6 separate regions of the Homo sapiens genome follow, and regions 1, 2, 4, 5 and 6 are each linked to region 3. The links are contacts of gene promoters, found by promoter capture Hi-C in blood cells and fetal thymus (Javierre and others, 2016). All regions are on one chromosome and are shown on one strand. Each heading gives the region's core, a stretch centred on a gene start or on the middle of the fragment in contact. The rest is flanking DNA. Distances are from core to core; before and after follow the strand shown.

What was found. The method cuts DNA at HindIII sites, captures the fragments that hold promoters and counts their contacts. A CHiCAGO score of 5 or more calls a contact.
Region 1: a fragment that was not itself captured here is called in contact with the fragment with the promoter of CD28 in region 3 in 6 of 17 cell types (total CD8 T cells, total CD4 T cells, activated CD4 T cells and 3 more); the score reaches 11.6 in total CD8 T cells.
Region 2: a fragment that was not itself captured here is called in contact with the fragment with the promoter of CD28 in region 3 in 5 of 17 cell types (activated CD4 T cells, total CD8 T cells, total CD4 T cells and 2 more); the score reaches 8.4 in activated CD4 T cells.
Region 4: a contact is called between a fragment that was not itself captured here and the fragment with the promoter of CD28 in region 3, in 1 of 17 cell types (total CD8 T cells). The highest score is 5.3, in total CD8 T cells.
Region 5: a contact is called between a fragment that was not itself captured here and the fragment with the promoter of CD28 in region 3, in 1 of 17 cell types (activated CD4 T cells). The highest score is 5.2, in activated CD4 T cells.
Region 6: a fragment that was not itself captured here is called in contact with the fragment with the promoter of CD28 in region 3 in 1 of 17 cell types (activated CD4 T cells); the score reaches 5.7 in activated CD4 T cells.

Annotation. Positions count from the first base shown.
Region 1 is chr2:203,490,223-203,494,298 of GRCh38, forward strand. RAPH1 (Ras association (RalGDS/AF-6) and pleckstrin homology domains 1) reads right to left here. Exons shown (of 14, transcript NM_213589.3): 3 at 992-1,097. Among named protein-coding and RNA genes, the nearest start is that of RAPH1, 43 kb to the right of the region's middle. The HindIII fragment of the contact is 1,138 bases long and covers 1,363-2,500 here.
Region 2 is chr2:203,510,908-203,515,360 of GRCh38, forward strand. The region is part of intron 1 of RAPH1 (Ras association (RalGDS/AF-6) and pleckstrin homology domains 1); the gene reads right to left. Among named protein-coding and RNA genes, the nearest start is that of RAPH1, 22 kb to the right of the region's middle. The HindIII fragment of the contact is 4,375 bases long and covers 1-3,567 here.
Region 3 is chr2:203,704,810-203,709,449 of GRCh38, forward strand. It overlaps CD28 (CD28 molecule), which reads left to right and starts at 1,830. Exons shown (of 4, transcript NM_006139.4): 1 at 1,830-1,939. The coding sequence starts at 1,888. RefSeq lists an enhancer at 1,710-1,859. The HindIII fragment of the contact is 2,136 bases long and covers 341-2,476 here.
Region 4 is chr2:203,472,260-203,476,752 of GRCh38, forward strand. The region is part of intron 4 of RAPH1 (Ras association (RalGDS/AF-6) and pleckstrin homology domains 1); the gene reads right to left. Among named protein-coding and RNA genes, the nearest start is that of RAPH1, 61 kb to the right of the region's middle. The HindIII fragment of the contact is 6,781 bases long and covers 1-4,493 here.
Region 5 is chr2:203,855,989-203,860,659 of GRCh38, forward strand. No RefSeq gene overlaps it. Among named protein-coding and RNA genes, the nearest start is that of CTLA4, 9.4 kb to the right of the region's middle. The HindIII fragment of the contact is 2,463 bases long and covers 1,777-4,239 here.
Region 6 is chr2:203,450,793-203,455,335 of GRCh38, forward strand. It overlaps RAPH1 (Ras association (RalGDS/AF-6) and pleckstrin homology domains 1), which reads right to left. Exons shown (of 14, transcript NM_213589.3): 10 at 3,638-3,748. Among named protein-coding and RNA genes, the nearest start is that of RAPH1, 82 kb to the right of the region's middle. The HindIII fragment of the contact is 306 bases long and covers 3,107-3,412 here.

The sequences.
Region 1 (4,076 bases), core at 682-3,181, 210 kb before region 3:
TGTTTTAAATTCCAAGATAAATTTTTAGAAGTACACAGTCCTCCTCTTTTAAGGCTTGTAATAATCAGAGGAGAATAAATTATGAGTTCAAAGACAAAAACACTACAAAAATCTTATACTGTTCCATGGTTTTAACCACATTCCTCTGTGCAACTTTTTACCACAGGCTTCAATATATTGTTAATATGATCAATGCTTTGGTAGAGATGTCAATACTGAAAGAGCTGAGGGCATAAAAAGAGAAGTCAAAAGTCTAAAAAATTACAGACTGACAGGTCAATATTATAAACTTGACTAGGTGGAATACAACAGATAAAGGCCACAGTGGCTGCTTTAAAAATTACTAAGAAGTAACTTCACTGGACTTTAATCCGGTGAGAAAACAATGCAATTAAGTTTGCTGTGGGGTTCCACCTGGGTATGTACTTTGTCAATTATTAATAAAACCAACTATCTTTTAGTTATGTTCTAGTTTGCTTTTCTCTGTGATATTTTCAATTAGTAATATTAATAAAATACACAAATCAAGAAATTTAAGGGCTGGACGCAGTGGCTCACGACTGTAATCCCAGCACTTTGGGAGGCTGAGGCAGGTGGATCACCTGAGGTCAGGAGTTCGAGACCAGCCTGGCCAACGTGGTGAAACCCTATCTCTACTTAAAAAATACAAAATTAGCCAAGTGTGGTTGTGCATGCCTGTAATCCCAGCTACTCGGGAGGCTGGGGCAGGAGAATCGCTTGAACCTGGGAGGCAGAGGTTGCAGTGAGCCGAGACTGTGCCACTGAACTCCAGCCTGGGCGACAAAAGCGAAACTCTGTCTCAAAAAAAAAAAAAAAAGAAAAAAGAAAAGAAAAAAGAAATTTAAGAACTTGGTCGAGTTATGCATGTAGCTTTTATATCGAGTTTTTATATTGGGAATTGCAGTTGTACTGCTCCTACATTGTGTGACTTAGCATACTATTTTACATTTTATTTCCAATTACATCTTACCATTCAAGTTGTATATGGAGAAGCGGTAAGAAAAGTTGGCCATGTTTGTTTCCTGGCGAAGAGGAGATCTTTTTACTGGTTCCATGGGCTTGTCAGAATCCAAACTCTTTATAAAAAGAAAGTTTAATAGTCATATTAAATTCAGGTTTCAATAATATAAAAAAAGATGAAGTTTGTTTTATGATTAAGTGAACTGCCACACTATAATTAATTAAACCAAAGTTCTCCTAAGTAATAGACTTAAGGAAAAGTATAATTGTATTTGACATTATTATTTTGGTTATACTTATTTCAATCTTTAGATATATGCTTACTTTTTTTTTTGGAGATGAAGTCTCGTCCTGTCACCCAGGCTTAAGTGCCGTGCCACAAGCTTGGCTCACTGCAACCTCCGCCTCCCGGGTTCAAGGGATCCTCCCGAGTAGTTGGGACCATAGGCATGTGCCACCATGCCCGGCTAATTTTTGTATTTTTAGTAGAGACAGGGTGTCACCATGTTGGCCAGGCTGGTTGCAAACTTCTGGCCTCAAGTGATCTGCCCACCTCCATCTCCCTAAGTGTTGAGATTACAGGCGTGAGCCACCATATCTGGCCTATGCTTACTTTTAAAGGCACTTGAGATTGTCATAGTTCAGAGTAAATATCTTTTCAAATATATTAAGTATAGTGACTGACTTCATTTTATATACATGCACTATAAAATAAGTGAGGTAAGTGAATATGGACATGGTAAGCTAAGAAATAGGTGTGATGGCTCACTTTGTAATCCCAGCACTTTGGCAGGCAGAGGCAGGCGGATCAACTGAGGTCAGAAGTTCGAGACCAACTTGGCCAACGGGGCGAAACCCCATCTCTACTAAAAGTACAAAAATTAGCTGGGCACAGTGGCGGGCGCCTGTAATCCCAGCTACTTGGCAGGCTGAGGCAGGAGAATCGCTTAAGCCTGAGAGGCAGAGGTTGCAGTGAGCCGAGATCACGCCACTGCACTCCAGCCTGGGCGACAGAGCGAGACTCAATCTCAAAAAAAAAAAAAAAAGAAACCGCACAGAGAGTTCTGTTCTTTCTTTCCTCAAAGGGATTTGGTTTAGGTCCAGGAAAGCCTCGATCTTTGCTATATGAAGTACTCTGAAGATAACGGACAGTTCTGGATTTAAAATTATTAAGACCCAAGACTCACTAATTTTAATGGAAAGTGATTACAAGTTCAAACAATGATGAAATATTCTTGTCCTTCTCCAGTTCTATCAAAAGGAGGGCAAATTGCAACCCAGCTACACTGCCTGTGACAAATCTTGAATCATACTGTATACTTTGGGTAGGGTGACTTGTAAGTTACACTTGTAAGTTTAAATGATACTCTTCCTCTCTAACCTTTCTAGAGCAAGGAAAAAAGATATTTACAACAGAGAAATTCAGAGAAAGGGTCAGTAGTTATTGTTTAATAGATTCACAAAATATAAGGATTAGTGTTTTAAAACTTTAATTTATATCTACAGTAAGCACTGAACAAGCTTCAAATTTTAAAAGAATGCTGGATACTCTATGTGTTTATAATGCTATCTTTTTTTTTTTTTTTGAGACAAGGTCATGCTCTGTTGCCCAGACACGAACTCTTAACCTTTTTAAAGGGGTTGCTGAGAATTTTATAAAAGCTATGAACCCTCTTCCAGAAAAATGCACATACATAAAAAACTTTACAAACTATTTTAGAAGATTGACCAACTACCTAAAACTTAAACTTGTTTTAATTCTAAGTTGAAAATACCATACCACTGAGTACGTGATACAGGTGTACAGATAACACTGTAATGAACTAAAGTAATGAAATAAACAAGAAACTTGAGGTTTTAGCCACAAACTTTGTAAAGTCAAACATCTCTTGAAAATGTCCCAAGTGTTACAAAGCAACATATTAGCAGTGAGTCACACTATGCCACAGTTTTAATCTTTTTTTCTCTCTAAAGACAGATTTATATAATGAAAAGAACAGTCACGTCATTAGTGGCTCTTCACACTTTTATGTCAGGCAACTTAAAATACAGGGGAAAGTACAAGGTATCAAACCAGTAGAAACACCATTTTCAGGGCAGCATCATGTAGTTCCTAGTTCACCCAGAGCAGCTGGACCAATATCTACCTGCCTTTTCTCTTTTGGGCCCCTCCTCCCAAGCATGGACAATAAAACCACATGGTCAAGAACACCCCACATGTCAGCTGGCCCTTGCATACTTTTCTCCATGCATTATCATTTTCTATTTGCTCTTCTTTGCTTCCTCTCTCTCCCAGAGCAGGACTGCATAGCCTAGTGATAATCTCTATGCTTAAATCACCCTTTTTATAAATTAAGAATTAAAACAGAAAGAATTTGGCAGTTACAGACATAAGACATCTCTGACAAAAAATGTCACTTCTTCTGATTAGAGATGAAGGGAATGATACCTATGAAATCCTAGTAGGAGTTGAAAACATTCTCCCCTGGCCAGGTGTGGTGGCTCCCACCTGTAATCCCAGCAGTTTGAGAGGCCGAGGCAGGTGGATTACCTAGGTCAGGAGTTCAAGATCAGCTTGGCTAACATGGTGAAACTCTGTCTCTAATAAAAATACAAAACCAGCTGGGCATGGTGGCGCATGCCTGTAATCCCAGCTACCTGGGAGGCTGAGACAGGAGAATTGCTTGAACCCGGGAGGCGGTGGTTGCACTGAGCTGAGATCACACCACTGCACTCCAGCCTGGGCGACAGGAGTGAGACTCTATCTCAAAAAAAAAAAAAAAAAAAAAAAAAAAGAAAAAAGAAAAAAAAAAATCCCCCCAAAATACAGTATTAACAGATTATGGTCACAAAGATGTCTGCCTTTCAAAATGATCTAGCAAGAATTACACGAAGAGTTTATCACTTTGAATTCTAGATTGCTGCAGAAATAAGCTGCTAGTAATTTAAGCTTCCACCTTGCCCACTTTGCTTTTCCTTTAGTTAAGGAATCTCATACCTACGCAATTTTACACAAATGTTCTTTCCAAAGACATTATTTATGAGTAAATAAGTTTTGTTCTAATGTTCTCATTGCCATGAAGTTAAATTTATTT
Region 2 (4,453 bases), core at 130-2,629, 190 kb before region 3:
TTAAAAAAAGAGTAAATATTATGTATATCTCAATTTAAAAAAAACTAAAAGTTTAAGTGTGTGCTAGTTAAACAAGAGAGGAGTTAGATGCCACTTCCTCTGAGAAGCCCATGAACTCTGTACCTCTATGGCATTTATAGCTAATCAGCTTTGTATTATGTGGTGGTTACTGGTGCACTTGCCTTATCACCCTCCACACCCAACTAGATTGCAAGCTCTGGAAAGAGAGAAACCATATGGTTCTCATTTTTCACCCCAGAGCAACTACCACAGAAATATATTCTTTCTTGATGCAAATTTCGACTTTTTTCTGCCAAGTATTTCTAATTTAAGATGACTCAAAGCTAAAGGTACATTTCTTTAAAAAAAAAAAAAAGTGGCCAATTTATCTGGTTCTAGTTTAAAGAAATATTAATCAAAAGAAACCAACACATTCCAAAATTAATTTCCCTATCAATAGAAGAATGGTTAGGAAAAATCAGAAAATTCTGCAATGCACTTTAGCTTCAGAAGAGTATTTTAATAGTATTTCTATAAGGTTATTTCAAGGCATATGATTTGATTCAATAGCTGCGTTAATGACTCTCTGGTAAAAATTAACAAATGACTATTAGTAAGGGTTCTTGCACCTGACAGAAACCCAACTCAAACTAGTTTTAACAAAGAATCTATTCAAAGTATAATTATCGGTACATTTGTCACAATGTTTGTCCTCTCAATTTCTTTAATCTCCCTTCCTCTTCCCTTCCAGGGTTTCATTCCAAAATTCTCTACCTTCTTTACATTTCCATTTCCCATGTCTTTGCTGTCTCCCCATTTTAACCTGTGAGTTCTCTTTCAGTATCCCTTTAAAAAGCTACTCCCAATTCCTATATATGAAAAACCAAAATCCACACAGTCGCTAAAAGAGACTTTAAGAATCGGCCAGGCACGGTGGCTCATGCCTGTAATCCCAGCACTTTGGGAGGCAGAGGTGGGAGGATCACAAGGTCAAGAGATTGAGATCATCCTGGCCAATATGGTAAAACCCTGTCTCTACTGAAAATACAAAAAAAATTAGCTGGGTGTGGTGGTGTTCCCCTATAGTCCCAGCTACTCGGGAGGCTGAGGCAGGAGAATCGCTTGAACTCAGGAGGCAGAGGTTGCAGAGAGCCGAGATCGCACCAATGCACTCCAGCCTGGTGACAGAGTGAGACTCCGTTCCAAAAAAAACAAAAAAGAATTAAGCAGAATATGGGCCAGGGGTGGTGGTGGCTCACACCTATAATCTCAACACTTTGGGAGGCCCAGGCAGGCGGACCACTTGAGGTCAGAAGTTGGAGCCCAGCCTGGCCAACATGACGAAACCCTGTCTCTACTAAAAATACAAAAATTAGCTGGGTGTGGTGGTGCACACCAAGATTGTGCCACTGCACTCCAGCCTGGGTGACAGAGTGAGACTCTGTCTCAAAAAAAAAAAAAAAACCCAAAAAACAAAAAACAAACAAATTCTCCCTCCATGTTTGTATGCCTCAACATTTTATTCCACCAGGAGTAAGAAATCCAACCAGAGATGGATCATTATTCCTGACATTAATGAGACACAAATGGAAGTAAGATAGAATTTAACAGTCAAAAATTGCCTTGGGTGACAAGAATAGTCTAAAAAACTTATTGAAATTTTTGGAATGAGTTTGTTGGGTATTTAAACAACATATGCTAAACATCCCTTACCTTTTTTTTTTTTTTTTTTTGAGACAGAGTCTTGCTCTGTCATCCAGGCTGGAGTACAGTGGTGCCATCTTAGCTCACTGCCACCTCCGCCTCCCAGGTTCAAGCGATTCTCCTTGCCTCAGCCTCCCAAGTAGCTGGGATTACAGGCACATGCCACCATGCCTGGCTAATTTTTTGTTATTTTTTAGTAGAGACAGGGTTCACTGTGTTAGCCAGGATGGTCTGGATCTCCTGACCTGGTGATCCGCCCACCTTGGTCTCCCAAAGTGCTGGGATTACAGGCATGAGCCACCGCGCCCGGCCATCCCTTAACATTTTAACACAAATTCTGGTCCATAAGAAATCTCAAATAGGTAAATCTTTCATGTTTATGTCCTAAGTGTGAATGAGTAAAAACAGACTTTCATTATCTTACACAATTGAAAACGTTAGTTTAATAAACAGTTTGCCAGATCTCCCTAGTTATCTAGGACTAAACAAGGAATCAGGAGACTTGAAATTCTTGTCTTAATTCTGCCACTAACTAGCTAGAACTTTGAGTTAAATCATTTAAATCCTTAGCCCTCACTTTCTTAATCTGCAGAAAAATGGGGGGGGGAATAGATGAACTAGTTGATACCAAAGATTTCCTCCACTCCTCCAACCCCATTCTATTTTTGTCTGAATTTCTACTATTTAATTACTGACTTCACTCTCAATTTCTTCCTATTTATCAGTCTTTTCTCTCAATCTTTTTTTTTTTTTTTTTTTTTGAGATAGAGTCTCGCTCTGTCGGCCAGGCTGAAGTGCAGTGGTGTGATCTCGGCAGACTGCAAGCTCCACCTCCCAGGTTCATGCCATTCTCCTGCCTCAGCCTCCCAGGTAGCTGGGACTACAATCCACCACATTATGCCCCGCCCGAGACTCTATTTCAAAAAAAAAAAAAAAAAAAAAGGCCAGGCGCGGTGGCTCACACCTATAATGCCAGCACTTTGGGAGACTGAGGTGGGCAGATCACTTGAGGTCAGGAGTTCGAGACCAGCTGGCCAACATGGTGAAACCCCGTCTCTACTAAAAATACAAAAATTAGCCAGGTGTGGTGGCAGGCGCCTATAATACCAGCTACTCGGGAGGCTGAGGCAGGAGAATTGCTTAAGCCTGGGAGGTAGAGGTTGCAGTGAGCCGAGATCACGCCACTGCACTACAGCCCAGGAGACAGAGCAAGACTCAGTCTCAAGAAAAAAAAAAAAAAATCAAAAAAATTATACAGAGACTCTCTCTGTCGCCCAGGCTGGAGTGCAGTGGTGTGATCTCAGCTCACTGCAGCCTCCACCTCCCGGGTTCAAGTGATTCTCCTGCCTGAGCCTCCAGAGTGGCTGGGATTACAGGCACACCACCACACCCAGCTAATTTTTGTATTTTTAATAGAGACAGGGTTTCATCATGTTGGGCAGGCTGGTCTCAAACTCCTGGCCTCAAGTGATCACCTGCCTCAGCCTCCCAAAGTGCTGGGATTGCAGGCATGAGCCACCACACCTGGCCCTCTCTCCAATCTTAATTCCGGAGTAAGGTATCTGCTGCCAGCTACTCTTTACTCTATTACTTAAGGGGAGGGAGCAGTTTAGGGAGCCAGCTTTCCCACCTTCACAGTCCAAAGACAGCCACAGCTATCTGCTCTGCCCTAGTTCAAATGAAGTCTCAGGAGTTTAGAAATTGTCTGAGGTGCTTTGACTTCTAATTTAATACTTTTAGGGTTTTTTTGTTTTTGTTTTTGTTTTTACTCTCTGTGTATTCATTTGTTTAAATAGTTAATATGGTCATGGTTATGAGAGAATAAAATTCAACTTAGTGTACAACAAAATATGGATTCCAGGAAGCTTAGAGGGTGGCTACCAGTGAGACAATGAGCAGTATCCCCCCAGGGTGGGCAGCATGTCGCACATCTAAAATTTGTGGGGTTTTTTTGTTTTTTTAAGACGGAGTCTCGCTGTGTCGCCCAGGCTGGAGTGCAGTGGCGTGATCTCGGCTCACTGCAAGCTCTGCCTCCCGGGTTCATGCCATTCTCCTGCCTCAGCCTCCCGAGTAGCTGGAATTACAGGCGCCCACCACCACGTGCAGCTAATTTTTTGTATTTTTAGTAGAGACGAGGTTTCACCGTGTTAGCCAGGATGGTCTCAATCTCCTGACCTCATGATCCACCCGCCTCAGCCTCCCAAAGTGCTAGGCTTACAGGCATGAGCCACCGCACCTGGCCAAATTTGTTTTTCATTTAACAATCTTGAAAATCCACATCAATTCCACATTCTGCTTCATATAATACCAATTAGAATAGAAAAAGTGTTTAAAACTAAGTAAAACTAAAGCTTCAGAATAATGCTGCCATATTTATTATGTGGTTTTGCATTCCCAATCTCTCCCTCCCAATCCCCAACCCTGTGTGCATGTGTACATACACTTTGAGGGGACCTAGGGGTACAATACTCCAGTTTTGAAAAGTAGGAAAGTAGAGGGTATCATCTCCATCCATTATAATGAAGAAACTGACATTCACAGTCTCAGATAATATATTAAAAATATTTTATAGGCTACTTATAATTATCTTTTGTGTTAACCTCTCAATAAAATTTAAGCAAAACTTTAAAAATCTGTAATTTAACTAATGTACAATAAAGAAACCATTAACAATGCATAACCATTGCAAGTTCTGTTTGACGGTATACTGTGTAAAAAGAGAAGGGGATTTTCAAAATAACAGCGATTC
Region 3 (4,640 bases), core at 580-3,079:
CAATTACAAATAATGTTTATAAAGATACTTAAATGACATGGGAAAATGTTCAAGATATAACAAATAATAGTACATATCTGATGAAAACTATAAGTAAAACATGATATTAAACATGTAAAAATCTTAACAGACCAACAGGTGGAAGGCAGTGGACCAGAATATTAGCAGTGTTTATATTAGGGTGGTAAGAATGTGGATGAATCTTGTTTTAATGCTTATAATTTTTCTAAACATTCTCAATGAAATATGCCTTACTTTTATAGTCAGAATAAAAAGCAATACAAGTTATCTTTTAAAACAACCCACATACACAAAACCCCCAACTAGAGTAATTGCACAAAGCTTAGATTATCAAAAAGAAGAAAAAAATTACTGGAAAAGTTTTGAAGAAGTCATTGAGTACAAGATACTGACGTAGGTGCCGGAAGAAGAGAGCAGTTGGCCGTGCTGGTGGAATAACCCTCTCTGCAAAGGGCCTGGGAGTTGAAGAAGGGTGCAGTCGGGTGGTGGTTATGAATCTCAGAAATCCTGCCACGGAGCCTCCTTTTGTGCCCTATTACTTAACCTTGAGGGACATAGAGAGCATGAGACACCAAGGGGCTTTTGGTTGCCTTACTGTCCCACTAAGAACATAGAATGTTGTTTTGACTTTCCCTTTGCTTAGGGAACCTCCCCCAGATACTCAGCTGGCTGGCTGCTTGCACGTAGAATGGGTTTTGCAAAGTTCCTAGAAGTGAGTTGGAGGAGGCTTGACATAAATCAAGCACTGTGTGCTAAATGCTCCAGAGGGCTACCTTATGTCCTACACAAATGTTACATTTCTAATATTTGTAACTCCTTTAAACGTTTATGCAGATGTTTCCCAATTCCTCAGTAGAATTCTTACCATTATCTTTTTGACACAACCTGTCCCCATCCTATGAAAATCTCTCCTCTGCTAGAGACTTTATTCTTTCTTTCTCTCTCTCCCCCTTCCTTCCTTCCCTCCCTCCCTCTTTCTTTCTTTCCATCTTTCTTTCTTTCTTTCTTTCTTTCTTTCTTTCTTTCTTTCTTTCTTTCTTTCTTTCTCTTTCTTTCTTTCTTTTCTTTCTTTCTTTCTTTCTCTTTCTCTCTCTTTCTTTCTTCCTTTCTTTTTTCTCTCTCCCCTTCCTTCCTTCTTTCCTTCTTTTCTTTTCTTTTCTTTTCTTTTCTTTCTCTCTTTCTTTCTGTCTTTCTTTTCTCATTCTGTTGCCCTGGCTGGAGTGCAGTGGCATGATCTCGGCTCATAGCAGCCTCCACCTCCTGGGTTCAAGCGATTCTCCTGCCTTAGCCTCCCTAGTAGCTGGGATTACAGGTACCCACCATGATGCCTGGCTAATTTTTTGTATTTTCAATGGAGACGGGGTTTCACCATGTTGGCCAGGCTCGTCTTGACCTCCTGGCCTCAAATGATCCACCCACTTTGGCCTCCCAAATTGCTGGCATTACAGGCGTGAGCCACTGCACCCGGCCTGTTCCTTCTTAAGAACACTTTGTCTCCCCTTTAATCTCTGCTGGATTTCAAGCACCCCTTTTACACAACTCTTGATATCCATCAATAAAGAATAATTCCCATAAGCCCATCATGTAGTGACCGACTATTTTTCAGTGACAAAAAAAAAGTCTTTAAAAATAGAAGTAAAAGTCTAAAGTCATCAAAACAACGTTATATCCTGTGTGAAATGCTGCAGTCAGGATGCCTTGTGGTTTGAGTGCCTTGATCATGTGCCCTAAGGGGATGGTGGCGGTGGTGGTGGCCGTGGATGACGGAGACTCTCAGGCCTTGGCAGGTGCGTCTTTCAGTTCCCCTCACACTTCGGGTTCCTCGGGGAGGAGGGGCTGGAACCCTAGCCCATCGTCAGGACAAAGATGCTCAGGCTGCTCTTGGCTCTCAACTTATTCCCTTCAATTCAAGTAACAGGTAAACAATGTTAATGTCTTTCTTTCTGTAAATATTTTTTGAGGTCTTCCAATTGGCTTAGTTTATTTTAAATTTCTAACAATGTGTGAAATTTGAACATTTGAAGTGTAGTTTTGCTGTAATAGGGCAATGTGTTATTTTGAAAATCATTGATTCTCAGACTACAATATAGTATCTTAACAAAAGTCCCTTGGAAATAAATTTTCTAAGCTATTAGTTTCTCTAGCTATTAGTTGATAGTGTCCCAAGAATTTATTATTATTATTATTATTTTAAATTGAGATGGGGTTTCACTATGTTGCCCAGGCTGGTCTCAAACTTCTGAGCTCAAGCAATCCACCTGCCTCTGCCTCCCAAAGTGCTAGGGTTACAGGCATGAGCTACCATGCCCGGCCAATAATTTTTAATTTATGTATCGTTTCTTTCTTTCTTTCTTTTTTTTTTTAATTTAAGAAAGCTGCTGTAAGTAGATTGGCTCTGGAAGCTCTGAATTTAGGTTGCCTATGTTCCTAACACAGGTCCAATTCTCACTAGGTAAGCTTAGGCTTAGCTATTATTTAAACTCTCCAAACCTCAGTTTCCTTAACTGTAAAGTGGGAATAATAATAAACCTCACCTCAAGGTCATTGTGAGGTAAAATGAAATAATCCATGCGAAGGGCTTAGCTCAGTCAGGCTTCAAGATAAATGTGAACTGTAATTACTCTATCTACCTGAATTGAATGAGTTCCAACATGAATTCTGGAGTCACCACAGAAGCTGCTACAACACCAATATTAATAAATTAGTTTTCTTTTACAATCGGCCAAAATGTATTTTCTTAGATTAAAATTCTTTAAGTTCCCAATGACGATGATGAGGAGGATAATACATCTAGCACTTTGAGCAGCACACAGTTCTCGTAACTAGAAGGTAGGTATTACAGTTAACTTCATTTCAGATGAAGAGACTGAGGGGTAGGCACATTAAGGGATTTGCCCAAGGATGTACAGGTGGCAGCTATAGGAGGCAGGGTCTGAACCACCTTAGTCTGACTCCAGTGCCGGTGTTGTTGATTATTATGCTATTCCATCTAACATGGTGTGATTTGTAATTTCATGGACTCAGGTAAATCCAGGGTTAAATTAACTTCGGAAAATCACAAGCACAATTCCTAACAGAAAGAATTTGTTACTTGGGTGGGCTGGAGTAAGATGCTCATTCAACGTGTTCTCAGAGTTAGAAAAAGGCCCCCGCTTGGTTCAAAAACTGGACTGATAGGGGTCAACAGTCATGCTTAAATAAGGACAGTTATTTTTCCCTGAAAGATACATTGAAAAGCCAGTATCCTCAATTTTCTTTCTTATTTTGGCAGTACAGAGACTGCATTATTTGTTGTTATTCTTAAACATTAAGTGTACATAGCCCAAAGAGTATAATTTCCCAATCTGCAGAGGTACAGTAGTTGCATATATACCCGTTTATTTTATGGTCTGACGTACCAGTGAGCACAAATTGTGTATATTTATAAAACGTGTTGATATAATGAAAGACATGAGTTGGCAATGAGATCTGGTACCAAGCGTTTACAGCTACCAAATATATTCTACAAGAATCTTTAACATTTATTTTAAAAAGGTCAAACCTTATTTTTAAGAGATCTCTCAAACTTAAAGAATATTTAAAATTACTTAATTTGTTAGACAGTCAAGGGAAGCCTACCCTGACTGAAAACTATTTAAAATTGGTAATTGTACACTAAATACTTTTCTGATGTGCTTTGTGGACACCTATCTGTCATCAACTTATTCACTCTCTTTTGAAGAGTTTTTGGTAAGACTCAAAACTTTGTATGTTTTCTTTAGAACATTTATTAAAAGGGGACTAGCTAGATAAGTGGTTGGAGAGTTCACACACATAGGGCCTTTGTTTTCTACTTTGACATATATTTACTTTTCAAATGCCAATTCACTTTTCTAGTAACTTTTAGCATTTGATACTGAGTGGCTATCTAATGAAGAAGGAAAGAGATGGGAGTGAAGGGGACACTTTTACAGTCTTTTCCAGTAAGAAAACTTACGAGCAAGAAAAGAATGACCACATAAAAAATGTATGATTTGGCCTGGTGTGGTGGCTCACGCCTGTAATCGTGGGACGCTGAGGCGGGTGGATCACTTGAGGTCAGGAGTTGGAGACCCGTCGGGCTAACATGGTGAAATCCCATCTCTACTAAAAATACAAAAAAATTAGCAGGGTGTGGTGGCATGCGCCTGTAATCCCAGCTACTTGTGAGGCTTAGGCAGGAGAATTGCTTAAACCCGGGACGCGGAGGTTGCTGTGAACTTAGATTGCACCCCTGCACTCCAGCCTGGGAAACAGTCTCAAAAAAAAAAAAAAATTATGCTGCATTCTAATCAAATAGTGCAAAGCTTCTTGTGTGCTTTGCCTTTCTCTGTACACACCTTCCATTAAGAAATTATAGATAGGGAAATTCTCTGGTCAAAGTGTAACTGTCCTTCCTAGGTCTGAGAAACCACTGTTATGCCTGTGTTGAGATGTGTATCTGTGTGCGTGCATGTGTGTGTATGTATGTATATGAAGAATAGTTCTTTTTTCCATTAATTTAATAATGTGTGTGTATGTATGTATATGAAGAATAGTTCTTTTTTCCATTAATTTAATAATGTAACTTATTTGTTTACAGCATAGCTTAAAATATTTAT
Region 4 (4,493 bases), core at 647-3,146, 230 kb before region 3:
GTAGCTGGGATCACAGGCATGGGCCACCACACTCGGCTAATTTTGTATTTTTATTAGAGACAGAGTTTCGCCATGTTAGCCAGGCTGGTCTTGAACTCCTGACCTAAGGTGATCCGCCCGCCTTGGCCTCCCAAAGTGCTGAGATTATAGGCGTGAGCCACTGTGCCCAGCCACGTTTCTTTACTTCTCTAATAAACTTGCTTTCACTTAAAAATAAAAGAGCAACTATAACTTTCATTGCTCTTATTCCCATTCATTTTTAGCTATTCAAATATAATGGGTAAACATGTACTGCTACACAATTACTATGTAAAACATGTAACATGTATTTCAAGAAATTACTTTCTTGAAAACTTACTGTATTTATCTTATAAAAGTTACTTTTTTAGAAAAATTATCTCCAAGTGAGTAGATTATCTATATTCAGATCATTATATTTCAAATTTAAAAAAATAAAATCTGCCTCAGGCCATCAAAACAAACTATGATTTGGTAAATGTAATTCCAAACATCAAATTCAAATTTAATTCTTAAAAACACAAGATTTAATCAGTTCTCAAACTCATGACCTCAAGACTTCAAGTCATCAAAAAACTGATAATTTGGTTAAGTATGAGGCAATGATATTTAATTGTATCTGATTAATGACACAGAAATAGAAGTCCATTTTGAAATATTAAGATATTCAAATAGCTTAAAATAAAAAGAGGGTAATCATTATGGTTGGTGGTCCCAAAATATGCCACATTCAAAAAATGAGACCACAAACAATAGTTAAACATGATCATAAATTATATCCTGCATGGATGGTTACGTAGCTATTCACTATTTAGTTACTAGCAGAAACAACAAACATGTGGAAACCCGAGGCAGCAAACTCCACTGGGCATGGTGGCTTGAACTGTAATCCCAGCTACTCAGGAGGCTCAGATAGGAGGACCACTTGAGCCCAGGAGCTTAAGGCTGCAGTGAGCTAAGATTATGCCACTGCATTCCAGCCTGGGCAACAGAGCGAGACCCTGTCTCAAAAAATAAAGTATCTTCTTCCAATTGGTACCAGTCATAACACTGATCCTAGAATTCCTTGCTCTTCAGAAAAAAGGGGCAGGGGTGGGGTGAAACTGGTTACTGGAAGGATGCAAGAGGGATGAGAAGAGTGGTGCACAGCTGAAGGACTAAGGAGAGTAAATTATGTAGTTTTAAAACTACATAATTTCTACCAGGGCCGTATTATCAGTGAAACATTTTAAACTGCAGAAATTGTGGTTTTGGTTCAGAAACAAGTTGTATATTTTTCACCCTTGATTACAGGGGAAAAAAATCAGTGCTGTGTCTTTGTGGGTTGCTCTGCTATGGAGATCTTACTGTAACTGAGTAAGGCCATTCTGTTTAGAAATATATTTTAAACGTTTAATTAAAAAAAAATTATGGTTTGGGCATGGCATCCAATCAGGCTTCAGTCTTGGTTTATGTTGTGAGTTAATAAAAATGCATACAGCTTCATATAAACAGGGCCTTCTTATATTTTCTTTTATTTACCAACTATAGACACAAAGTCAAGGGCTTATTTTCAATCCATTTTATTGATTTATTTTATTTCTCTGTTTTCCTCTTCATGTATTCAACCATTTTTTAGGCTCCAACTTTTGAGTGTGGAACCATGCCAGCATTAGAGATGCAAAGGTGACCAAGATGGGCATTCCTTGCCTCACAGAATGTAGTCTAAATAGGGAGATGCAGACCAACTTGCAACTACAAAACAGTGTGTTAAGTGGTAGGTGAGCAAGGAGACGGGTATCTAACCCCAAATTAGCGGCTTAATAAAGTAATTCTGAAAAAGCTACAGTCCTGGAGGATGATTAAGAGGCTGCTGGGGTCGCAGTGTGAGGGAGTGTGGCAGGGTAGAAAGAGGGCAAAGGGATATTTGAGACCAGTGGTTCTCAAAAGAGGGTAGCTCTGTCCTCAAGCAGGAATTTCAGAAAATGTTAAGGACATTCTGGGCTGCCACAATGAAGAGGAGAGGGAGAGTTACTGGTATTTATTGGGAAGTTGAAAATGCAAGATGCCTTGCAAGCATGGTACAATGTCAGTAACAACAAAAGTCCCACATTCCACAATTGTTAAATGTCCTTACACGGAGAGTCGCAGAGATGGGAAATCTTGCTTATAACAATCTGAGCTTAGAATCTAATTTCATTTTACATCTAAAAAGTATTTTTGCATAATTTTAATACTGAATGAATTTTCCAGGATGCTATTACCCTCTAAAATAAATGGAAAGAAGTCTGCACTTTCTTTTGTTCTGAGCTTACAAACAGCTGTTCATAATGTTGGAAAATAATTTCACCAATGGAAAACTAGCTTGAAGTAAGAGTTGCCAGTACCACAACTGGCAGTGTACACTCTGTCACATGCCAGTAAATGATAGGAGATATTTGGAATTCCTTTGAACAGAATTAAAAGCAAAATAATATTAAATTAGTGAAAACATGAAATTAACGTTATTAGTAAAAATTGTTTTAAAATATTTCATACTACTGTTGTCATATTTAAAATACATAGCACAGAAGGCCGGGAGTGATGGCTCATGCCTGTAATCCCACCACTTTGGGAGGCTGAGGCAGGTGGATCACCTGAGGCAAGGAGTTCAAGACCAGCCTGGCCAACATGGCAAAACGCCATCTCTACTAAAAATACAAAAATTAGCCAGGTGTGGTGAAGCACACTTGTAGTCGCAGCTACTTGGGACGCTGAGGCGGGAGAATCGTTTGAACCCAGGAGGCAGAGATTGCAGTGAGCCGAGATGGCACCACTGTACTACAGCTTGAGCAACAGAGCAAGACTGCATCTTAAAGAAATAAAATATGGCCGGGCGCAGTGACTCATGCCTGTAATCCCAGCACCTTGGGAGGCCGAGGCGGGAGGATCACAAGGTCAGGAGATCAATACCATCCTGGCTAACATGGTGAAACCCCGTCTCTATTAAAAATACAAAAAATTAGCTGGGCGAGGTGGCGGGTGCCTGTAGTCTCACCTACTTGGGAGGCTGAGGCAGGAGAATGGCATGAACCTGGGAGGTGGAGCTTGCAGTGAGCCAAGATCGCGCCACTGCACTCCAGCCTGGGTGACAGAGCGAGACTCCGTCTCAAAAAAAAAGAAATAAAATATATAGCATGATGAAAAATCTACACTGTAAAAAAAATCAGATATCAAATGATTTTATTACTACCATCTCATCCCACATTATAACACTGAAATTATTTTGTCATTACAATTATAAATAATCTTATCTCATTTGCAAGAATTTTACATGCTCCCATTTTCTCTACTTGCCTATAAACTGTCTCAGCACATTATCCCTACTTCAATTAAGATTATTTCCCTTTTTCTCATAGTATATACAAGTATGTCATTATCTGCTATCACTTATAACATGTTTCAGTTCTGGGGTCCACTCATATTTCTGTTCTTTTTCCTACACTTCTTGTATAAAAAAAAAAAAAAAAAGGCTTCTGATCTCACTTCTCTTAAACCCAAAGTTCTTGATTATAGGTAGGTGTAAGGTTTGACTACTTCATTATGTCTTTTAATAGTGGCAGCTAAGCATTTACATACTAAAACAGATATATTATTTATTATAAATTTCTTTTTCATTATTTCTCCTTCATAGGTGTTGGGGCATTACATTCATATAAAAAAGTAGGTATGTAAGTAGGTTATATTATTTACAAATTTCACTTGGACAGTAAAGATGGTGTTAGAAATCATCACAAAGGTAATTTAAAATTTTGTTAGCCACATTAATTTTAAAAAGTATAAAAAGAAAAAACTGAAATATTCATATATTTTAGTTAACCAAAAATATCCAAAATTTTAACAAGTAATAAATACAAATAAATTTTGTTGTTTTTGTTTTTTTAAGTCTTGCTCCGTCACTCAGGCTGGAGTACAGTGGTGTGATCTTGGCTCACTGTTATCTTGGCTCACTGCAGCCTCCGCCTCTTGGGTTCAAGCAATTCTTCTGCCTCAGCCTCCTGAGTAGCTGGGATTACAGGCATGTGCCACCAAGCCTGGCTAATTTTTGTATTTTTAGTAGAAATGGGGTTTCGTCATGTTGGCCAGGCTGGTCTTGAACTCCTGGCCTCAAGTAATCTGCCCACCTCGGCCTCCCAAAGTGCTGGGATTACAGGTATGAGCCAACACACCCGGCCACGAGATTTTTTTTACATTTTTGTTTCATAGTAAGTCTTTGAAGTCCAGTATGTATTTTATCCTTACAGCACACAATTCAGATTAACCACATTTTAAATATTTAATAGGCACACGTGGCTAGTGGCTACCGTATGGGACAGTACACCTCTGAAGCATCCAGATTTGCCAACCATGGCAAATGGCATGGCAAAAAAAATGACCAAAGAATAAATTTTTTTAAGAAAGAAACTAGGCTTTCAGTTAAGCATCAGTGCAGAAGAATCATTCCATTTGGTAGCTCT
Region 5 (4,671 bases), core at 1,758-4,257, 150 kb after region 3:
ATTTCAAATCTCTGCATGAAAGAGAAGAAGCTAAATCCATCTCTTATCTCCTTTCAACTTCTCCAAAAACCGGAATGCCAAAGTTCTGATGACCTGACATATACTTAGTGTTATGTAAACATTAAAAGGACTTAATTTTTGTTGTTTGTAATATCTTTTTTTCTAACCACAAAGTAACACATATACATTCATAAAAATGGAAAATACAGATAGGTAAAATAAGAAAATAAAAATTTTATGTAAAAATTATGTAAGCATCACTAAGATGTTACTATATATAATTCTACGTATATTTTTGGTTTAATTTTACAAAGCAGATCATACTCTAAATATGATTTTCTAATCTGATTTTAAAATTTATATATCATGAAGGGAAAATACACTTTTAATTAAAAATTGTTGAGAGTTGAAAGTAAGAGATCCTTCCTAATAGTGCCTTCTTATCTCTCAGGTGAGAAAAACTCTGATGCAATTATATAACTGAAATAATTCACATTTAGGCAGCATCAGAGCCAGGCCTATAACTAAAACCTCCTAAATCTTGGGTAACTACTTTATGCATTTTACAGGTGTCCTTTCTTACTTTTCATATGCTATGACTAAATCCAGTGTGATTAATTGGAATTAGAGAGCATGAGAAATTCTTATCTTCCTCTTATGTCCTTTAGCTTGGCTAAATGTTTGCTGGAAAACAGTGGGTAGGATCGATTAACACAGAATTTATTGAAAATATTTTAAAGAAATAATTTGTACATTTTGTGATGAGTTTTCAAACTTTAAAGCTTCAAATTGAGGTCTCTCTGCAGGAACGACACGATTTGAGGCATTGAATCTTGGTAACATCTCAAACTGCTATAAATTTCTAAAAAGTTGTTATCTGACTCAGTGTCAACAGAAACATGATTAAATCTAAGTAAGAATTTCCTTTTAGGTTTGCGACTTCAAAAAACCATTTATGCTGAAGAAATTTGAGTTAAAGGCTCTAAAATAGATTCAATGAATCTTATCAATCAATCAATTTTATTTGCTAAATTTAGTACTAGAGTGACATTATCTGTACATTCTTTGTATAAAAACATCTAGCAGAGCACTTTTTTGGGGTTTTGTGATATCAAGAGGTTTTGGGAATTTTAGGAAAGTTCCACCCACAATAAAAACCAATGTTCTCTTATTGCTGATTAATTCTGTCAGATGGGTCAGAATCGATGCTTCTTTGAATACATGCAAATTATCCTTCATTTAAAGTTTCTGTTTTGTCTTTCTTCCTTTGTTTCATTTGTTTGTCATTTCTCTTATTCTTCTCATTTTCTTCTTTACTCTCATTCTCTTAAAATAAAAATCTTAAGGATTTCACTTATTTTTTTCAGTTTTTCTTTGCTACAGGAGATAGTGAAATCAGTGAGTAAAATCAGGTTATACAAATGGCATTCACTTACATAGACATTTTATGATGTTAAACTAAAAAAAAAAGCCTGGTTATTTGGAGGGAGATTCAGATAATTTGGAAGTGATTTATTTTCTCAAACGGAAATAGTGATTACAAATGATGAGAAAAAGAATTGCATTTATTTGGCAACATGATCATAAACTTGCTTACTGAATTTATCCTATAAATCAGGATAATAAATTCCAGTGGCAAACATTTAATTTTTAAACATCATAACTTCCTTTAGCTTTTTTTTGTGAGCTTAAAATTCCAAATAAACTTACTTGTTCTCATGCTCACAATTGTCTATTTTATCCAAAGGATGAAATGCAGGAGATGCATTTGATGGAAGCTTCTTGACCTGCTTATATTTTAAGAGCACAGGAAACACATGTTTCTGGTGTTTTCTACTTGTCAGCATTTCTTAACCGATGGAACAGAAATGTCCAGAACTACAAAGTTCAAACTTTGCATGTGGCAAGAACTTTATGTGATCAGACTGAATCTAAATAATGTTGAGAAATAACAAAAATATAAGCAATGGATTTCTAAGCAGACAATGTCATTGCCATGACATGGTCCTATTAGGTGCATACAGAAACTGAGCTCTATGCGTGTGCCAGACAAAAACCAAAGAGCTTCGGTTTTAATTACAGTGCATTACTCTTATTACCCTCAACAGGTTCTGACGTGACCATGTAAATACAATTATTTAGTTTCTTCCTTATGGCTGAAGTGTTGGGCCAGAGATTTTCCTCTTAGAACATAATCTGTGAAATGGGTCTACTAAGGAAAGCTACTTAATGTAACCAGCTCCTTCTAAATCATATTCTCCTAAAGCACACCGGAATAATACAGTTCATTGGGCCAAAGTTTTCTAACATGGCTTCCCTCCATCTCATTTAGTTAGTCCACAGCTGAGTAACCTGTTAGAAAATTGTGCCCAGCAGAGGGCAGAGCCAGTGATCCATATCTCAGATTCTGGCTGGTGATGGTTCAGTGTGATGTGGGATCAGAATTGCAGATTATGAGAAATAACCAGAATCTTTCTTCCTTGCCTCAGCCCATGGAGGATGTGTCCACCAGTTCATTCTTTTGACACTTGGAAAGAAGTGGAACGTGGATTCAGATTTGGCCAGATTACATTCAGAGGAGAGTAAAACATGGCCAATAATACTGTAAGACCAATGGTGTGCTTTCTGAGACGGTGAATGCCTATAGAATCTGTCAATATGACCGTATTTTTGCGTGTGTGTTGTAAAGTGCATATAACATAAAATCGACGATTTTAACCGTTTCAAAGTGTACAATTCAGTGGCATTTCGTATATTCACAGCATCATGTGACAGTTACCACTATGCTGCTCCAGAGCGTTTTCATTACCCGAAAAGGAAATCTCATACCGCCAAGCAGTCATTCCCCATTTTCCCCTCTCACATTCCCTAGCAATCAATAATCTGCTTTCTGGCTCTACAGACTTGCTTATTCTAGATATTTCATATAAGTGGAATCGTACAATACGTGTCCTTTTGTGTCTGGCTTATTTCACTCAGCATAATGTTTTCAAAGTTTACCCATGTTGTAGCATGCACCTTCATTCCTTTTTATGGCTGAATAATATTCCGTGGTGTAGATAGAGTACATTTTGCTTATCCATTCATCAGTTGATGGACACTTGGGATGTTTCCACTTTGGCTGTTGTGATTAATGCTGCTATGAGACCATATGTATATGTTTTTTTACTTAAATGATTTGCTGATTTGTGTTTGTGGGTACCCAAGACCTAGCAGGAAGTTTGGTGGGGCTGGGTTTGAAGTTGCAAACTGGGCAGAAAACTAGAGCCAGAAGCCATGCCAGTTCAAGAGGTTCTGGGGAAGATGGTGAATGATGGTAAAGGCAGTGAGAAGAAAATCACATTAGAGTCAAGGGCCCTTGGACTCTCATCTTGGTTCTGCCACCAGCAGACTGTGTGGGTGATTTGGGTAAATCATTTCACCTTCCTGGGCCTTCATATTCTCTCTTTAAAATGAGACAGCAGAACTCACTAACATTTCTTCTAGCTCTAGGAGTCAGTGCCTGCCACAGACTGTGCAAACACCCTGTATTTCTTGTCACCTAACACACCCTTTTCCAGCATCACAGCTGCTATCACTCACACTGTAAACAGTATAGGTACTCTTTTTCTATATTTTCTGTGCTCAAGGTTTGGGCTTAACCATTTCCTCTGAACTGGAAGTATGAAGAGGGTCAGGGCCTGGCATCATTGAAATGTGGCAGTCGCAGCAGGGCCCAAAATAACACAGCTCAAAATATGAAAGCAATGTCTCTGTAACCAAGAAACTGAAATAAATGCTCGAGGCTGAGATTATATCAGCCACAAATATCATGGAAGAAATGGGTTCCATCAAATGTTTGGCACTTCCAATGTTACTCTTTATAGATAGCTAGCAAGTTTTGGGGTGTAGGTGGGTGGTTCATTCAGCATTAAAGATGATTTGTAGTCCATGTCCAAGATTTCCTTCTCCTTGCACTAAGACAAGAAAATATTAGTGATTTGTGAAGTTTCTTCTTTTGTAAAATGGAAATGGTACTGGGTAATCTCAGCTCGTTCTAAATAGAAATCAGGTACACTCCTGAATGTACCATTCAGGTGGGGTACATTGTGGGGAGGGTGTCGTGGGTCAAATATGGGACTATTTACCCTTCCCTTTCTGTTTATTTCTCCTTGACAATGAAAGAATAAGATCTGAATATGAGACCCTGGGCAAGTCAATTGCCTTCTCAATATCAGTTTCCTGATCTGTAAAATAAGAAGCTTACCTATTTTGAAAGCATCTATTTTTGGCTTTTGATAAAGCCACTTACTTAAATTTATTTGTGGCTGGCTGTGTTACAACAGGGCTGAGGGATTAAGAAAAAAGACAAAATCCAACTTTAATTTTACTTTTAGGAGTGAGAAGCTAAGGACATTGACAGACAATCAGAGATGATAATGTCTAAAATTCAAAATATAATAACAGAACATTATCCATAAGTGGAGATAAGATATTCAAAAGATGTAATCATATAAAGAGCTTAGGCAATTAGAACACAGATTCCCTGTACAAATCGCTTTGTGACCACAGTTAACTTATTATTATTATTATTATTATTATTTTTGAGACGTCTCGCTCTGTTGCCCAGGCTGGAGTGCAGTGGTGTGATCTCAGCTCACTGCAACCTCTGCCTCCCAGGTTCAAGCCATT
Region 6 (4,543 bases), core at 2,010-4,509, 250 kb before region 3:
GCCCTCCCTTCATGGTGATTTGCAAACTTGACTGCATAGGTGTTCAACTGTAGCAGAAGCCCAAGTGTGCATGTGTGCTTCCATGCGTTCTGCACAAAAAGAGGGTTTTTTTTTTTTTTTAATCAAAACAACATCTGGGAAAATCAAAGAGAAATTATCCTCCACCCTGTTCTCCTCATCTCTCTAACCTGGGAATACAGATAATAACCTGAAGAGTACTATGGTATAAGTATGAGTCTTTTTAAGTCAAGTATCAGATTACTGCTAGTTTAAAATTCCTTTTAGAACCTCAAAACATTTTTTCATCCTCTCACATAATAAAGGCATTCATTACTTTCCTTATGGTCATCCAGGCTCTGTACAAGTACTTCTGCAGATTGTCTGTTCTGCTAATACATTATTTTATTAAAAGTGGCATTTATTGCACCCTTGCTATGTACTAGACACTATGTAAAATATTTCACATACTTCACATTTTTCATTAAATACTCACAAAACCTCTCTGAGTTACATATTATTATCTCCATGTTCCAAGAAGAAAGCAAGGCACAGAGTAAGGTTAAAACAGCGCTCAAAATTGCTTCCGATAAGTGAAAGGTAGTACTAGAATTTGAACCCATGCAATCTCATCCCAGAGTGCATGCTTTTAACTACTATTTCATACTACTGCCTTATTAAAATGTGCCCCTTTGAATCTGCTACCTCTGCTCCTTTTTTCCCCACAATATTATGCTGTCATTTTTAAAATTATACCAGGGTTAAGAGGAAGGCTGGAGGAAACATTCATTGCTAAAAACCAGAAGCTCCACATTTAGATTCTTAAGAGAGTCCAGAGAACATATAATGAAATTGCTCCCAAAACAGATGAATACCTATTAAGAAAGAAAGGTCAACATTTCATTTTTAAAATGACCCTGACAGGTTGAGTGCAGGCCCCTATGGCTATCTCCTCCTCCCCACTTCTTTCCTGGCAGAGCCTTACCTCTCACCTATATCCCACAGGGTGTGAATTCTGACTGGTGTAAGCCAACCATAGTAGTTTTATTCCCTTGTCAGTGATTGGCTTGTCAGCAGAAAATGTACTCTGGGCCAGTAACTCTCAAAAGGAGGGTGGTTGAGTAACTTCTGTGAAATAGTTCCTTCCTCTTATAAAAGACAAATACAGGGAGCAATAATCCCTCTTCTGCTGGCTGGATTTTTCTGGGTCTACATGTGATGCATAGAACTGCAGCAGCCATCTTGGGACTGTGAGGTGAATCAGCCTGAGAATAAGCTGATATGCGGGAAGTAGAACAAGGAAAGATGGAAAGAATTTGAGTTCTCACTGACAACCTTGAGCCACTGAAATAACCAACCAACTTTTACTGTTTTCATGTTATGAGAGTCCCCCAATAACTTTCTTTTACGTGGATTATGTCTACTGATATTGAAGGAGTTAAAAATGTACCACCCTGGCATATTGACTAAGTTAAAAGACACTTGAAAAACAGCAGGTACAGAAGATCACTCTGACCTTCATGCTATTTCTTAAAAGCCTTAGAAGATGAAATTACCATGCAAAAGATGCTTTCTCAATACTAGAAAGCGAAAATATCTTTCTCCTCAGGGATGAGAAGTTGAAACCAACAGAATTCTGTACAGACCTTGTTAAAATAACTCGTATCTTTAAGGCTTCACATATAATTTAGTTGCTTCTTCACAAATTATTCTTTGTCCAATCCAGTATACAAGTAATTATGCTTTTCTCCTGTTGATCTCTTATGTCAATTTAATTTGTGTGCCCAGCTAGGACCCTAAGAGTATGAAGTGAAGTTTTTCCACCCCAGCAATACTTACATTATAAATTAAAACTAAGAAAAAAATTAAACTACAAGAATACACAGGCCAGGCCAGGCACAGTAGCTCACGCCTATAATCCCAGCACTTCAGCAGACTGAGGCAGGCGGATCACTTGAGGCCAGTCTGACCAACATGGCAAAACCTCATCTGTCCTAAAAATACAAAAATTAACTGGGTGTGGTGGCATGTGGCTGTAGTCCCAGCTACTCGGGAAGCTAAGGCATGAGAACTACTTGAACCCGGGAGGCAGAGGTTGCAGTGAGCCGAGATCACATCAGCCAGGGAGACAGAGTGAGACTGTCTCAAAAATAAATAAATAAATAAATAGACAAACACACATTACACTAGCGTGAAGATACCATCACATGTCATATAACCTCTTAGAAAACTCCACTATACATATGTGAGAGAATGAAAGTTCAAGAGGCAAATAACATCTTAGCATTATTAAATAATTTTGACATCATGGTCTTAGGGACTGACTCTCAGGAGACTGTGGACCTCATTTTGAAAACTGCTGAATTAAGCTACTTTGTACTGACTTTTAAAAAACTATTTGCACCTAAAGGTACCTAAAATGATACAGTGGTGTTCCCCAAAAACACAATTATGTAATAAAAGGTTACCATTATGGCCAGGAGCAGTGGCTCTGCCTGTAATCCTAGCACTCTGGGAAGCCTAGGCAGGCAGATTGCTTGAGGCCAGGAATCTGTGACTAGCCTAGGCAATATGGCTAAACCCTGTCTCTACAAAAAAACACAAAAATTAGCTGGGTGTGGTGGCATGCACCTCAAGTCCCAGCTACTTGGGAGACTGAGCTGGGAATATCGCTGGAGCCTGAGAAGTCGAGGCTACAGTGAGCTGTGATTGTGCCACTGCACTCCAGCCTGGGTGACAGAGCAAGACCCTGCCTCAAAAAAAAAAAAAAAAAAAAAAAAAAAAAAGGTTGCTACTACAATGTACTGACTTTATCAAAGCAATCAAAACTCCAAAATCCTAAAATCCTAAAACTCCCAAACTAATGGCAGTCCCCAAACTAAAGTGACAATTCTCAGAGAAAAGTGAAATTAAACATGATATGAACATGTAGACCTAAGTAGTTACCAAGAAATTACAAAGATGGAGCCAATGAAAAAAAAATTATCTCCCTAATTTTCTTGAATTTTTGTATGTCGTTTTTATCAGTGTTCTAATAGATCACTATAAATTTGCTTAAAATGTCCGTTCTTCTCAGAAGTACAGATATAATCATTGCAAGAAGTACAAAAGCTTGAATAAAGAAGAAAAAAAAACCTCCCTAAAAACAGCTCAGGTCACAATACATACATGGGCTATCATGACTATAGTTCAGGGAAAAAAAGAGACAAAAATTATTTCTGGACCAGATAACAGCCAGTCTGATTTGAACTTGGACACAGTGCCCTCTGATGGTTTGCTGAGTAAGTACAGGAAAAGAACTAAAGCACATTTATGACCTACATTCGGCTCTGTTCTAAGTTTTCCTAAAATAAGCCTGGTGTTAAATGAGAATCTCAAATTTATAATCAAATACATTTTATATCTCACAACTCAAAGCTTACAATCTAATATTCACTCCTTACCTAGAGATAATTGGCCCAGGGTCTGCTATGATATAGCACATGCTTCTTTTCCTTACCACACTTCACCATTCCTTTTTAAACTTTGAGAATAAAGCAAAAACAGTATAATTGATGGAATCTCAACAGTTCTAAAATATCCAATAACCTGCTCTATGTCTAACATCAATTAAAATTCCTAAAAAGAAATATGTGTTTACCTTCAGCACCAGACAATAGTCTGTAGGTGCTTTGTATTTGTTCCGATAGTCCTGGCCATAATAAACGTTGACATGATCCAGCTGGAGAAAGCACACCAGATCCCGAGAGACCTAAGATAAAAACACCAAAAAGATAAAATTAATAATAATGCACAAACAAGCAAATATACCTGGTTAACATTTTCTAGGTGAGAATCAAAACTACTTTTGCTAATACTAAATAGAAATTATTGCTATTTACACGAGACAATGAGATGCTCCATAAATGTTTCTTCTTTAATCATTAACGTAACAAAAAAGCAGCCCATTTTACTTACTGTTTTGTCATTCACAATGAACACTAACTTGTTAAGGAGTGTTGGCATTTTAAAGATACTATTAATATAGTCTAGTACATTAAAAACAATAATGTATAATAGAGCTCTCTGGAAAGAACAAGAAAATATCAAGTCGTTCAGTGCCTATAATGCATATGTAAAGTATAGTGATTCGCAACTGGTTGGGGGGAGGTTTTCACCAGTTAAATAGGGGCAACAATATATGCTCATAGGACTATTGTGAAGACTAGATGAGATAATACTGTAAAAAAGTTTAAAACAGTCCTGGTGCCAATAAGCACCGAAGTGATAGCTACACCAGGGTGGCCCTTAGCAGAAGAAGCATATTACCCAAACAAGATAAAAAAGCCTGTAATCCCAGAGAGCTGTGCTGTTCTTCCCAAACAAAAATAAACAAAACTACTCCAGAAAGAGTCCCCAAAAAACAACAAATAAAACTATGATTTCAAATTTGGTAAAGAGAACTGAGATAGGCTCAACTAGTGACCAGAGAAGTAAGAACTTTCAGGTTTCTTCTTCTTTATAATAGATTAATAAACAAAGCAATATTCTATGTCTTCCACGAACT